5 separate regions of the Homo sapiens genome follow, and regions 1, 2, 3 and 4 are each linked to region 5. The links are contacts of gene promoters, found by promoter capture Hi-C in blood cells and fetal thymus (Javierre and others, 2016). All regions are on one chromosome and are shown on one strand. Each heading gives the region's core, a stretch centred on a gene start or on the middle of the fragment in contact. The rest is flanking DNA. Distances are from core to core; before and after follow the strand shown. Region 1 holds the start of SLAMF6 (SLAM family member 6). Region 2 overlaps CD84 (CD84 molecule). Region 3 overlaps CD84 (CD84 molecule). Region 4 overlaps CD84 (CD84 molecule). Region 5 holds the start of SLAMF1 (signaling lymphocytic activation molecule family member 1).

Region 1 (2,700 bases), core at 147-2,646, 130 kb after region 5:
AAAGGACTTTATCTTCTTTTCCAAAAAAAAAAAAAATTTGTGCACTTAGCTCAGAAAAAAGTAAACAAAAAATTAACACAGTTACAAATTAGGATTTTTAGTGCAGGGGAAGAAGTTGTCACCACGCCTCTAAGAGGAAGGGGAAGTCTCAGAAGTATTTTCAGTTTATGACAGAAGGGCAAAAACATTGACTGCCTCAAGGTCTCAAGCACCAGTCTTCACCGCGGAAAGCATGTTGTGGCTGTTCCAATCGCTCCTGTTTGTCTTCTGCTTTGGCCCAGGTAAATGTCAATCCAGATCGGTGTAGTCACTGAGTGACTCCCTGGTTTTGTGCAGCTTGCTCAACCTAAATCGTCTGTATACAGTTGTCTGGCTCTCTGCCAAGGGATTGGGGCGGGAAAGGGGACGCTGGCAGTGTTACCTGATATACTACTACCTCCTCTCAACTTTGGATGCGATAAGCCTGAGATGGTTGTCGGTGAACAATTTCAATTGTGTCTGCATGTAAGAAAGTTATTTGCTGGGGCAGAGGAAATAAGCTTTTGAAGACAAGACTGTTTGTGGTTTATGACCAGCATCTTGTGTTATAAAGAGTACCAAGACCAAGAAAATGGGCCCTCATACCAATGTATCTACTATCGTACTGTGAACCTCAGGGAGGTTACTTATCCTTCCTGAACCTCACTATCCTCATCTAAATTATTAAAAACCTATTATTCAGTTGAGCCAAATTTTCTGGGCCCAACCAAACACACCAAAAATAACCCTCTCACCTTTTGCTCATTGCAAAAAAAAAGGTTTCCATCTCTCCCCTCCTTTAGTGCAAATTAGGGCTAGCTAGTCCAGCAATGCATTATATATGGCAGTGAGAAAAGAATGAACTGATCCAGCTGGCTTCTTGTTTCCTGCTGTCCATTATATGGAGAAGATGAAGATTCATATCACATTTGGGGAACTACAAGTGGTCCACGGGAGACAAAGTGTAGCATTCAGGCAGAGATAGTCCAGGAGACCAATGGAAATCTAGTCCAGAGCTAGCCCAGGGTAGCAGATAAAAGTAGGAAGCATTCACTGAGCACTTATTGTATTTCAAGTATTGTGCCAGGTGCTGTACACACGTTATGAGTCTCATGAGAATTCTATGAATTTATACTATTAATATCTCCATTTTAAAATGAAGAACTGAGGTGAACTTAATTTAAATAATTTGCCCAAATTTCATTAGCCAGCATGCGACAAGCTCTTGTAATAGTTATGAGAAAAAATAACAGTTCAACAAGTGTGGCAGCAGCATAAGAGAAAGAAGAGACTGAAGCAAGAGATCCCATCAATATGGAGTTAAGTAGAGTAATTGGTAATTGGAATGAGAAAGGAATAAATATTCATTGAGCACCTACTGAATGCTTGGCACTCTTCTAGTTTGCATGAATACATCATGAACAAAGCAAGCAAAAATTCCTGCCCTCATGGAGTTAACATTTTAGCAGGAGACAAACTGTAAAAAAAGATAAACAAGTAAAATAGTGTATTGGGTAGGAAGAAATAAATCAAGAAGGAAAGGGAGAGATGAAATATGGTAAAGACGGCAGTGAAATTTCAGACAGGATAGCCAAAGAAAGTGACAAAATTGGAAGGTGGAGAGCAGCCACAGGAGGAAGGTGAGTTCAATTTTGGACCTACTGATTTTAGGATGTCAGTGTGCTATACATGAGGAAGTTACGTGGAGGATCCTGGGAACTTAGGACTAGGGGTAGAGCTGAGGCTAGAGACTTAAAAATCAATGGCATAGAGATATGTTAAGCTGAGGAGAAAACTGGAATGAGAACAGAACTTTGGGAAATATATATAAAATGCAGAAAGAGAGAGAATTCTTTCCTTCATTCAAGAGCCACTTCCTGATCTAGGAGCAGAATCTTGAGTTTTTGCTTCATTTTTACCACCCTGCAAAATTATTTCCACCTCTAGAATAAAATATTCTGAATGTCCTTGTGTTAAAACTCCTCTTCTTCTCCCTATTTCCATGAATACTTCTTATAATGACCCTATGAAATATACAGTGCTCCAATCTCCACTTCACAGATGGGGAAAGAAGGCACAGAACACTAAAGTAACTTGCTCACTGCCCCACATTTATGGGGGAAATGGGTATAGAAAGAGAAACACATTTGAATGAGTTTACAGGAGGCAGATGCAGGTGTTCTGAGACCCAGGAGGAGAGAAGTGGCTGCTAGAATTGGAAATCAGGAAGCTTGGCTCCGGAGTCTGTGCTCATAGCCACTTCACTATGCTACTTAGCTTACACACAGTCATACATTCACACAAATGTGTACATAATTAGAAAATGTGAGGCCAGCAAAAAAAATAAGCAGGGCACCTTCATAGAGAAAAACACGGGGACCTGCTTTGGACGGAGTGATGAAGAAAGGACTTCCTGGAAAAGTAACATCTCATCTGATATTTAAAGGGTGTGAAAAGTTAAACAGGAAAAGTCAAATGAAGAAGATTTTAGGGCAGAGGGAATCATGTGTGAAAAGCCGTGATGCAGGAAAGAGCCTGGAGTGATTTAGGAAGGGAAAGAAGACCACTGTTGCAAAAATGTGGGGCAAATGAAATTAATCTTTGAAACAACCATGAAAAACAATGACTCATGCCAGCCTACATTCTTTGAAGTGGGTTGGGCACTATCCTGACTCCTTTTAG
Region 2 (2,700 bases), core at 101-2,600, 110 kb after region 5:
TCATGTTTGCAATAAGATATATTATCCCTTCTACAAGTCACCTTTTATTTCAGGCATTTGTAAATGCCCATTAATAAAGTATGGTTCATAAATTTTACCTTGTAAGTGCCTAAGAAATGAGACTACAAGCTCCATTTCAGCAGGACACAATAAATATTATTTTATAATGCATCTATTTTGTGTTTTACTTTGTTTTGGTTTTTGAGAGCAACAAAAATGAAGTAAACAGATGAAACAGCAAAGGAGACAGTCCACATGATAAAAGCCCTGTGCTGTCTGAAAACCCAGGCCCTGAGTGGACACAAGAGACCAAGGGATTGAGGGTATAAGACAGACAAAGAAAAAAAGAAAAGCTGATGTAGAGAGATGATTGGGACCTTGAGAGGAGACTGAGAAGCTAGAGACAGGAAGGACAAATGCCAGAAACAGAAAAAACCCGGAGGGCAGCAGAGGTGCTTGGTTAAGGTGGAGAAGAGAGTTCTGCCTTGGTCAACCTAGAGAGAGGAAATTGAGGACTTAAATCACGTTTTGGGGGTCATCTCCCTCCAGGGAAGAAGCTTTGTCTTATTCATTTTTCACTCACAGTGCCCTATCACAGGAGCCAATGCCTAGCAGAGCTTAGTAAGTATTTGTTGAACTGAATTTGGATTGGCACCCACATATCAGAAGAGGAAAGAGAGTCCTGGAAACCACATTCAGAGTCCGAGTCCCAAATTGGAGAGTAGAAATTCTCTGTGTCACCCATAGTGCCACTTGGAGGAAAGGGATAAAAAGACTGGGCTTTTAACTGAGGAGAATGAGGTTGTGGTTTCCACAGAACTGTAGGTGCAGGGCCTCTGAATGTTTGGTAAACACTGAAGGGGAGGTGACTTACTAACAGGCGCTGTGAGATAGCAAATGGTTTTTAGGCCTGAGACAAAACCACTTCCTCTATTCCCTGCTTATCAGAGGCCACAGCTGCTCTGTTCTGAGCCAGCGTTTGCAGATAAGCCTGGTCTTCCAGCTCCCCACCTACATCTTCTTGTGGGGTTGAAATTGACTGCTACCCATGTAGAATTTCGGAGTCCCTGTGTAGAAACTCTGTAGGCAGATACAGCAACCGTTTGAGAAGATAAATTTCGCTAGTGTTTCTCCAGTGCTTTCTGAGGTTTGGCACATTTCATTTCATTTCATCTACACATTAGCCATAGGACTTTCAGCTTGAAATTACCTCCACCTCCTTACCCTCACTACCTCCAATACACAGCTTCACTCATTCACACAATGCCCATTCATTCTTCTGGGATAAGCTCAAGCGTCCCTTCCTGGGGGGAAGTTTTCCCTGTTCCTCCAGGCCATATCTGATGCCCGTGTTTTGCGCTCATAGTACAACACCTCTTGCCTTTACAGCAGTTTTCAATTTTGTCTTTAAATATTTCTCCCTGTGATTATTTTATTAATTCCTCTCTTCCGTCACTGGACTGTGAGTTCCATCAGGACACAGATCATGCGTGGTTTTGTCACCATTTGTATCCACAGTGCCTGACCCAGTGCAAGTAGTCCTCAATTTGTAATACTTTAATTATTGAAGACGCAATAGCTTATCAGCCTTTAACTGTGTTAGCTGGCATGTTACAATCCTTTGGCATATGTATCAACGACAAAGCCAGGTATACTGTTTATTTCTGAAGTATATTACCTTCATAGATTCTATAAAACCCTTGGTTGGAAATGCACTAGAAAATATTGATTTTACCTGCTATGCAGGAGACACAGAAGAGTTAACACAGCAGGGCTAAAACTGCTGTCCTTTGAAGGGCATGCTTATAAGGTTGGCCCTTGGCTGGTGTCTGAGAACTTGGACTTTGGGACGGTTCCTACCATTCCCTGATAAGAATTCCCTGATAAGGTACTTACACTGTACCTAAATTGTTGGCACAACAATTTGTTTTTTGCTGAATATCTGCTTTCTTTCTTGGATTCTGGAATTTTGGTGCATGCTAGGTAGAGGGTGCCTACGTTACTGCCTGCAGAGAAAAACCCTAAATGCCTAGGCTCCATCGAGCTTCTTTGGTAGATTACATTTCAAACATGACACAACATGTTGTTGAAGGAATTACATACATCCTGTTTGACTCCACTATGAGAGGACTCTAGAAGCTTGCACCTGGTTTCCTCTGGACTTTGCCCTTTTGCCTTTGCTGATTTTCTTTGTGTTTATTCACTGTAATAAATCGGCCATGACTATGGCTATATGCTGAGTCTTGTGAGTCCTCCTACTGAATGACTGAATCTGGGGGTGGTCTTGAAAACCCCAACACAACTCCTGAATGTCACTACAATCTATCTACCTCTCTTTCACCACTAACTACAGTAGTCCAGGTTGCCATCATCTCTTACCCAGACAATAGCACTTGACCTCTTGCAGTCGTGCCTGCTCCCAGTCCAATCCATTCTCTACACCACAACCAGAGTGATCTTTCCAAAACACAAATAATGGTTATATTGGCCATGCTAATGTCATCTGGTGGCAGAAAGGACCAATGGATTGCTGTGGTATAAGGCTTTGTATATGTAATAACTTATAAGTTGAAAATTTATAATTAAGCCCTGGCACAGTGGCTCACGCCTGTATTGGGAGGCTGAGGTGGGTGGATTACTTGAGGCCAGGAGTTCAAGACCAGCCTGGTCAACATGGTGAAACCCCGTCTCTACTAAAAG
Region 3 (2,700 bases), core at 132-2,631, 69 kb after region 5:
ACTGGCTGGGGAGAGACTTAAAATTCAAACCTAAGTGTTTAGGTTCAGCTTTAAAGTTTATATTACTGAGTTATATTTCTGAGATCTGGAGATCTCAGTTTCCAAAGGTCTGAGGCAAATCCTTCTCAGAGGAATCAGCACTTGGTAAACCCACCCAAAAAGCCTGGCAAAAGAAAGATCTTCTAAAAGCTTGAATGACTTACAAGCAATTTCTTCTTGGCATTCAATTGTGATGGCGTTTGAGAGAGAAAAATGTCTTTCCTAATTATAGTTGATTGTTCTATCAGGTTAGAGTGATGGATGACTCATCGTTATCATTGTTGAGCCTCATCTCTATAAACTCCCTTTATTTTCAAAACACAGAGCTATTACTCTGCTTTTATCCTCAACAAACTCTAAAATAAATGAGGAAGAGATTACTATCCCATTTTTTACAAATAGTCTCAAAAAAGAGTTGGAGAACTTGAATTAAAAACCCTATTTTTCTTACTTATGGCATAACAGTAAACTAAAAGAACGACATGAATATTGATTGTTATTTGTACAAAGAAAATTGTAACATTAACATAGATCTGGGAGTGCTGTGTCATTGTACATGTTATCTCCTTAAATACAAACAATTGCTCTAACAGAAATTTACTATGTTTGGAACTTCTAGATCTACTTCTAGTATCTCTTGCCAGTTCTGAAAATGCACTAGCAGAATTCTGGCATGAGTTAGAACCCTGGGAACCTAGTACGTTTGGATTTTCTGTAAAGGTAGAATCAATGCACTGTGATCTCTCTGGTTTCTTTGGCCATTTCAAGCTATGGCTCCTTTAATTTGAACTTCATGGAGATTGTAACCACTAGTCAGACCAAATTTTTGGAGCCTCTGCTGGTCGCTCTAGAATGGCAGACAGAAAATGCAAGTAGATGAGGAATGGTACTAGGGATGTCCCTAATCTTCCAGAGAGAGACCAGACAAGGTAGCATTTGATACCACTTAATTTGCAAAACATTCTACAATGTTTATGCCTACATTCTTATGTCATCCATATGAAAACCATTGAGATGAGCAAGATAGACGTTATTAATCCCATTATGCAAGAAAAATAATAAATTAAGATTTAGGGGTTTAAAAATTCACCTGAAATTTCACTACCTAAATTGGTAGAGCTGGAAATAGACATTGGTTTTTCTAATTCCAAGGTTAATCCCAATCCCATTGGTTCTTCTTTCTGCTCCACCTGACCTCTTCACTCATTGCTTTCAAATTTTTGATGCTCTTCAAAAGGTTAATACCTGCTAAGATAAAAGGTAGCTCTAGGATACACTTCTTTCATCTACTGAAACTGAAATAAAGTTGTCAAATCAGCTAGTAGTGAATTGTTTACAAGTTTTGTGACCTAGACGAAGTTACATTCCTCCTCTGACTCTTGTTTCAGCTTCAAAATGGGGAGGTATTAATACAGTAGAATTGTTTTGAGAATCAAAATGATGATAATGCATGTACAACACTTGCCATGGTACCTGAATATAGTAAGTGTTTAACAGATATCAGCTAATGCTACTATTTTTCACACTCGCTTTTCATTCATTATTAGGAAGAGCCATGGCTTTACCACACAGAGATCCTGGGCAGGACTCCTCTGTCAGGGAATTGTCCAAGGAACATAAACAGGAGAAAAGGTGGTGGGAGTTTGAGCTTAGGTGTTGGTTGTCTGGGTTCTGGAAAAGGAAACTAGGAGTGAGATATTCATTTCATCAAGGATCCATGAAAGGGGAATGGGAGCTTGTTTTTATAAAAGTGAAGCCAGGAGTACTTTTTACATACTGTCCACCTTTACTGAATTATCTGTTTGCCTCTTAAGGATTATTCTGCAAACCTTTTCTGAGCACAAAAATATACCATGAATTCCTCCTGCTGCTGTTCCTGGTAGAGGTAGTCCCTTACATTCAGTATTGGGCTTAGGAGTCTACACTTTACACATTTCCCTGGAATTCAGAGCAGTTGAAGAGGCTGAGAAGCAGTGGAGAGATGCAGGGAGAAATCCCCATTTCCCCTCAGAAATCACCGACATAAGGAAAGTCTGAGTGTGCAAACTTATGACTGTTCCATGTTGGAAAAGTTTTCTCTGAGTCAAAATTCACAGTCTTATGCTCTGATGCCAACTTTCTGATCATGACTTTGGAAACACCATGACTCTGACTGTCTCTCCACATACCCTGGGAGACACTCCCACTCTGAGGGTAGGAGATGAAGGAGTCCACCAGTTTTAATCCTTGCCCACCCCCTCTACATATACTGTCTCATACTCTTAATTCTTCCTTTTCTCTGCCCCATTCGTATTTCTATTTCTTCAACTCCCTGTCTTATCTCCCATCAATAATAGTAATAAGTAACCATTTATGGAGCAATCACTGCATATTCAGCATTACTCTAAGTAGTCTACAGTTATTATTTTGTTTAATCCTTACAATACACTATGAGATAGATACGGTTTATGTGCACATATACAGATGAAAGCATTGATACACAGAGAGTCAAAGGCCACTTAACCAAAAAGTGAAAGAAGTAGAATTTAAGCTTCAGAGTCCTTAGACTTCACCTCTGAGTCATGCTGCCTCCACCCACATTGATGCTGAAGTGGAGTAAATTACTCTCCCTACTATTAATGTTTGGGAATATGTCAGTAAAGAGTGATGATTTATTTATTT
Region 4 (2,700 bases), core at 98-2,597, 91 kb after region 5:
TGTGAATGTTCGATTAATATAAGATGATTGAATCAGTTTCTATACCGATGGACAGCATAGCGGAAAGAACGCTAATGTTGGGATTAGGCATACTTTGCCAGCTGTATGATCTTGGGCAAGTTGTTTAACCTCTCTGTTCCAAAGTTTCCTCACTTATAGAATGTAGATCGTAATTGATGGTATTAAATGAGATAATGGTAGTTGAGCTCCCTAGTATAGTGCCTGCCTTAAAGTAAATGCTCAATAACTAGTAATCATTAATTTTTTAATCCTTATCCCTTAAAAAAAATCTCATTATGAAGGACTTCCTAGATGAAGAAGGCTCTGAACTAGGCTTGAATAATGTAGTCAAAGAGCCATACCCAAATGTCAACCCTTTAGAAAATATTTAACTCATTCGAGAACTTTAGCTGAGAAAATAAAGATGGTATTCAATTTTAAGATATTGATTTTTAACCCTTTATATGTTTAATTTTGCCTACCCAATCTTCAGAAAGTCTTCTACCACGTGCAATTAGGACACAGTACAGTAATATCTTAGAGAAAGCTGTACTGTATATACAATAAAATCTGTACCTTATGGGTAGTTAGCTGGGAAAATAAAGAGAAGGAAACTAACATTTATTGAACATCATTTATGTGTTTGGCATTCTAATATCTATTTTAAAAATATATAGACTATACATATTTAAGCACTGTATGCACAAAAAGAGCAAAAGATAATACAATGAGATGTAACTCTCTCTTCTCAGAGGCAGTGGCTGTAGCCAGCTTCTTCTGTGTCTTCCATAGATAATTAATGTGCATACCAGCATAGACAGACAGATAGATGATAGATAAGTAAATAGGTAATTAGAATAATCTTTATCTTCAAAATCTCATTTAATCCTCACAACAATTGTATTTAGGGAAAAATTTTTACCCTCATGTTATAAATAAGGGAGCTGAAGCTCCATGAATCTGTATACCTTCTCCATTATTCCATAGCTAGAGAGCAGTAGAGCCTGGATTCTGAACCAGGTCTCCAGTGGCTTCCACAATCTTGGCTTGGGAGGATGAAGATCTGTCGGCCATGACTCTGACTTTCTCTTCCCAGCATCTTTGTGCAGGCAACACCTCTGTTCCTGCTGAGAAAAGTGAGATGGGATCCTCTTCTTTACCACTGTCCCCTACCTCAACACCTACCCCCAACAATTGGTAAACACCAAGCACTCCCTAGGCATTTTTGTAAATCAAATTTCTAAAGAAACACACACGCACACACACAAAATTTTGTTCACTTTCTACTAATTGATATCGTATCAGTCACTATTATAGTTAATCCAGGTCTGTACCCCAAACTTGTTTTGGGTTTATTCCAAGTCTTCACTAATTCTAATATGGAATAGATCCCTCTAAAAGATTGTTAGGACCAGAATTTCTGGCTAGCTTGGAATCAAACATTTTTACAGCTTCTTACTGTTCATGTTGAGTTCCTTCACAAACGCAAGATAATGGTTCTTATATCTTGTGTCTACACTTCTGAATTTATTGCCTTTCTAGTTGTGCACCAGTTCCTTCTGACTCCTCTATTCCCTTCCTCACATAGCTACAGTGGAAGAAACAAACCCCACCACAGCAACTTTGCTGAGAGGGCGCTGAACTTATTAACTCCAAATGTGGTCATTTTCTTATTCCTGGTAAAAGAAAAGACCTTAACGCTTCCCCATGCCAGCTCCAGTCCTAGCTATCACTTGAATTATTATTGTTCTTTAGTAACCCTTTACTAGCCTTCAACTTTTATAGTTTACTTTTTGATTGCTTAAGTAAAAACATTTTAATGAACTTTTAAAGAAATTATAGCTTTCCACCATGGATAGTTTTTAAAAAATAAAGAAAATATACATACACCAGAAAACAGAATGAAAAAAAATTTTAAAGATTATTTTGGCTGGGTGCGGTGGCTCACACCTGTCATCCCAGCACTTTGGGAGGCCGAGGCGGGTGGATCACGAGGTCAGGAGATTGAGACCATCCTAGCTAACACGGTGAAACTCCATCTCTACTAAAAATACAAAAACAAAATTAGGCGTGGTGGTGGGCACCTGTAGTCCCAGCTACTCCTCGGGAGGCTGAGGCAGGAGAATGGCTTGAACCCAGGAGGCGGAGCTTGCAGTGAGCCGAGATCATGCCACTGCACTCCAGCCTGGGTGACAGAGCAAGACTCCGTCTCAAAAAAAAAAAAAAAAAGATTATTTCATGTAGTTGTGTGCTGATAAATATTTAATTAGCTCTTAATTGGGTGTGTGTATTCATATATATATATAAAATTTATGTTTAGTACAAATTTTATTGACTTGAAGGATGTGTAGCACACAGTTTCATTAATGATAATAAATATATAATAGTCTTTATTGTAAATTCTATATAGAATTTATTTTGCTGAGAGGGCACTAGAGGATAAATTCCAATTATTCTTACAGAATGCTTTCATTGATTTTTGCTAAGCATTTATATCCCTAATCAGCTTATAGTTGTAATTGATGTATGAGTATAGTTCCAACACAAACATCGGTTGATATTTTCATTTCAGTTAAATAATAAGAAAAAAGTGATTCAACAAAGACATATATATTGGAGCTTCATTTGTTTATCAATGACACGAGCGACTTCTTTGCTGAATTGGATAATGGTTTCCAAATACCAGAAGAATACTTCCTA
Region 5 (2,700 bases), core at 100-2,599:
ATTACAGCACTATTCACAATAGCCAAGGTTGGAAGCGACCTAAGCGTCTATCACCGATGAGTGGATAAAGAAAATGTGGTACATATACACAATGAAGTACTATTCAGCTAAAAAAGAATTAGATCCTGTCATTCACAATGACATGGATGGAATTGAAGATCATTATGTTACGTGAAATAAGCCAGGCACAGACAGACAAACTTTGCACGTTCTCACTTGCTTGTGAGAGGTAAAAATTAAAACAATTGAACTTGTGGGCATAGAGAGTAGAAGGATGGTTACCAGAGGCTGAAGGGTAGTGGGGGTTGGGGAAGAAGTGGGGATGGTTAATGGGTACAAAAAAATAGAAAGAATGAATAAGAACTAGTATTTGATAATACAACAGTGTGACTATAGTCAATAATAATTTAATTGCACATTTAAAAATAAAAATATAATTGCACTGTTTGTAACACAAAGGATAAATATTTGAGGTGATGGATATCCCATTTACCCTGTGTGATTATTACATATTGCATGCCTCTATCAACATATCTCATATACCCCATACAAATATATGCATACCCCATACATATATATATACATACACACACACACACACACACACACACACACACACACACACACACATATATGTATATCTACTATGTACCCACAGACGTTAAAAATTAGAGGAGAAAACACACACACAACAAGGAGACTGAGCTGGAAGGATGGAGCTCTGGGATAGATTTGTCCTACATCCCTGCCTGGGAGGGAATCCACACACATGCAAGAAGACAAACTAGGAGCATGGGCTACTAAATTATACCACATTGCACTCATCGGGGTCACAGGGTTTCTTCCAAGTGACCCGCACATGCCCTTCCCATCTCTGTGTGACAGTGGCACCTGCACCAGACTGCATGTTGAGGTGTCATCTGAAATTATGAAATAAAACAGAAGTAAGAGGTCTATTAGCTCATCAAAATGCAGTTATCTAAGTTCAGCTGTGAACTGCCAAATTTGAGGAGTGATCCAATGAAACATCTTTTCTTTGCAATCCAAGAAGACTTACCGGAGAGAACTGCTCAGAGAATCTGCAACATCCGGTTCCTGGAGACAGCTAAGGAAAGAAGCTGGGGCGCATGTTTCTGCCCAAAGCCGGGTTTTGGCCGAGGTGACTACACACCCCCTTTCCTGGCTCCCATAGGCTAAGTGCCTGGCTTCTTGAGAAGCCTGCTTCTTGAGAACAAAAAAGTGATTTAAAGCCTCATGGGAGATGAGCAATCCTCAAGACACAAGCAGAAAAAGTCCCAGTGATACAGGAAGCGGGTTCAGGAACCTGCTGGTTCCTGATACATAAATCAGACAGCCTCTGCTGCATGACACGAAGCTTGCTTCTGCCTGGCATCTGTGAGCAGCTGCCAGGCTCCGGCCAGGATCCCTTCCTTCTCCTCATTGGCTGATGGATCCCAAGGGGCTCCTCTCCTTGACCTTCGTGCTGTTTCTCTCCCTGGCTTTTGGGGCAAGCTACGGAACAGGTGAGTGTTCATCTGCCTGATGGTTTGAGTCCCATGTTAGCTGCCAGGAATCAGCGTATCTTCGTGGATGGAGAGAAGGTGCAGGGCTGGGTATTGTGTTTGGTCACTCTTCCTTAGGGACTGGCTGTCAGTTTCAACTGCCTCTTTCAAAGAGGAAGGAACATTATAAGTTCCTGGGCCCTTGGGTTTCCAAGACTCAGCCCCACCAACCCCAGTTTCCAAGGAAATGAGGGGCTCTAAGCCAAAGGCTCCAGTCACTTTTCTGACCAGTCTTAGGGTGACAGGCCCTGGTAGAAGTCTTGCTTGAGTGGTTGGTTTTACATGGGCATCTTCTGGCAAAGACCCAGCCTAGAGAGACTGAGCTGGATGGACTGAGCTCTGGGAGAAGATTTGCCCTACATCCCTGCCCTGGGAGGGAATCTGTGCACATGCAGGCTGACAAACCAGGAGCATGGGTCAACAGAAAGCATTGGCTAGAGTGGGAAGAGAGAGTAGAAGTGAAAACTCCAGGCTTTTGGCTGAGAACCAGCAGTGGCCACAGTGCGGTCATACTGGTGTGTATTTTCTTGGAAGAGAAGGTCCAAGAAAGCAAGAGGGAAGAAGTTGGGATTTCTGAAGGCTAGGGCTGGTTACAGTATGTGGGAAATGCAAATTGGGAACCCTCAGAGAGTAGCTCCAGCAGGAAGGCCAGACAAGAGCTACCTTTGGATCTGGACTCTGTTCCTGTCTTTCTGTCTATCTTCTTCCCAAGGCAGGCTATTGCTTTCTGTTTAGAAGTATCAGGGCTATGAGAAAAGGTATTTGAGAAAGAAAAAGCCAAGCAAGAAGTGGACTTTGGACTGCCTGTGTGAGTGGGGTGAGAATCTCCTTCTGCTTATTTGTTTAGACTGTGGGAGGTAGCCTGGAGTAGAAGAGGTGGCATTACGGACACGGGGGGAAATCCTGAGGCCCAGGGTGTTTTAAGCTTGGGGTTTTCAAGACCGCAAATCCAATATGGACTTTTCCAGGAAAAGCACCGTGATATGCCAGGGATGTGGGGGTGCTGCACAATGGATGTGTCTTTTACCAGACAGCCAGACGAACAGGGCTTGCTCAGCCCACTTTCTTTTGGAATCTGCAGATCCATGGCTCGTACTTCCCAAGGTCTAGGGGAGGAAGAACTGAGCTCGGGGCTCAG

The links. The method cuts DNA at HindIII sites, captures the fragments that hold promoters and counts their contacts. A CHiCAGO score of 5 or more calls a contact.
Region 1: a contact is called between a fragment that was not itself captured here and the fragment with the promoter of SLAMF1 in region 5, in 3 of 17 cell types (non-activated CD4 T cells, fetal thymus and activated CD4 T cells). The highest score is 8.9, in non-activated CD4 T cells.
Region 2: a fragment that was not itself captured here is called in contact with the fragment with the promoter of SLAMF1 in region 5 in 6 of 17 cell types (fetal thymus, non-activated CD4 T cells, naive CD8 T cells and 3 more); the score reaches 11.0 in fetal thymus.
Region 3: a fragment that was not itself captured here is called in contact with the fragment with the promoter of SLAMF1 in region 5 in 3 of 17 cell types (fetal thymus, activated CD4 T cells and non-activated CD4 T cells); the score reaches 7.4 in fetal thymus.
Region 4: a fragment that was not itself captured here is called in contact with the fragment with the promoter of SLAMF1 in region 5 in 4 of 17 cell types (naive CD8 T cells, non-activated CD4 T cells, activated CD4 T cells and 1 more); the score reaches 8.2 in naive CD8 T cells.

The regions. Positions count from the first base shown.
Region 1 is chr1:160,520,725-160,523,424 of GRCh38, reverse strand. It overlaps SLAMF6 (SLAM family member 6), which reads left to right and starts at 170. Exons shown (of 8, transcript NM_001184714.2): 1 at 170-281. The coding sequence starts at 233. RefSeq lists an enhancer at 336-385. The HindIII fragment of the contact is 1,709 bases long and covers 542-2,250 here.
Region 2 is chr1:160,538,569-160,541,268 of GRCh38, reverse strand. It overlaps CD84 (CD84 molecule), which reads left to right. Exons shown (of 7, transcript NM_003874.4): 7 at 1-171. The region is part of intron 1 of CD84-AS1 (CD84 antisense RNA 1); the gene reads right to left. Among named protein-coding and RNA genes, the nearest start is that of CD84-AS1, 2.8 kb to the right of the region's middle. RefSeq lists enhancers at 776-1,070, 1,086-1,175. The HindIII fragment of the contact is 1,582 bases long and covers 560-2,141 here.
Region 3 is chr1:160,576,548-160,579,247 of GRCh38, reverse strand. The region is part of intron 1 of CD84 (CD84 molecule); the gene reads left to right. Among named protein-coding and RNA genes, the nearest start is that of CD84, 1.6 kb to the left of the region's middle. The HindIII fragment of the contact is 2,380 bases long and covers 192-2,571 here.
Region 4 is chr1:160,554,611-160,557,310 of GRCh38, reverse strand. The region is part of intron 2 of CD84 (CD84 molecule); the gene reads left to right. All of the region lies in intron 1 of CD84-AS1 (CD84 antisense RNA 1), which reads right to left. Among named protein-coding and RNA genes, the nearest start is that of CD84-AS1, 19 kb to the right of the region's middle. The HindIII fragment of the contact is 6,836 bases long and covers 1-2,700 here.
Region 5 is chr1:160,645,693-160,648,392 of GRCh38, reverse strand. SLAMF1 (signaling lymphocytic activation molecule family member 1) reads left to right here and starts at 1,349. Exons shown (of 7, transcript NM_003037.5): 1 at 1,349-1,523. The coding sequence starts at 1,448. LOC107985220 (a long non-coding RNA gene) reads right to left here and starts at 1,384. Exons shown (of 2, transcript XR_001738266.2): 1 at 1,058-1,384; 2 at 1-920. RefSeq lists enhancers at 1,218-1,267, 1,308-1,517. The HindIII fragment of the contact is 11,196 bases long and covers 1-1,377 here.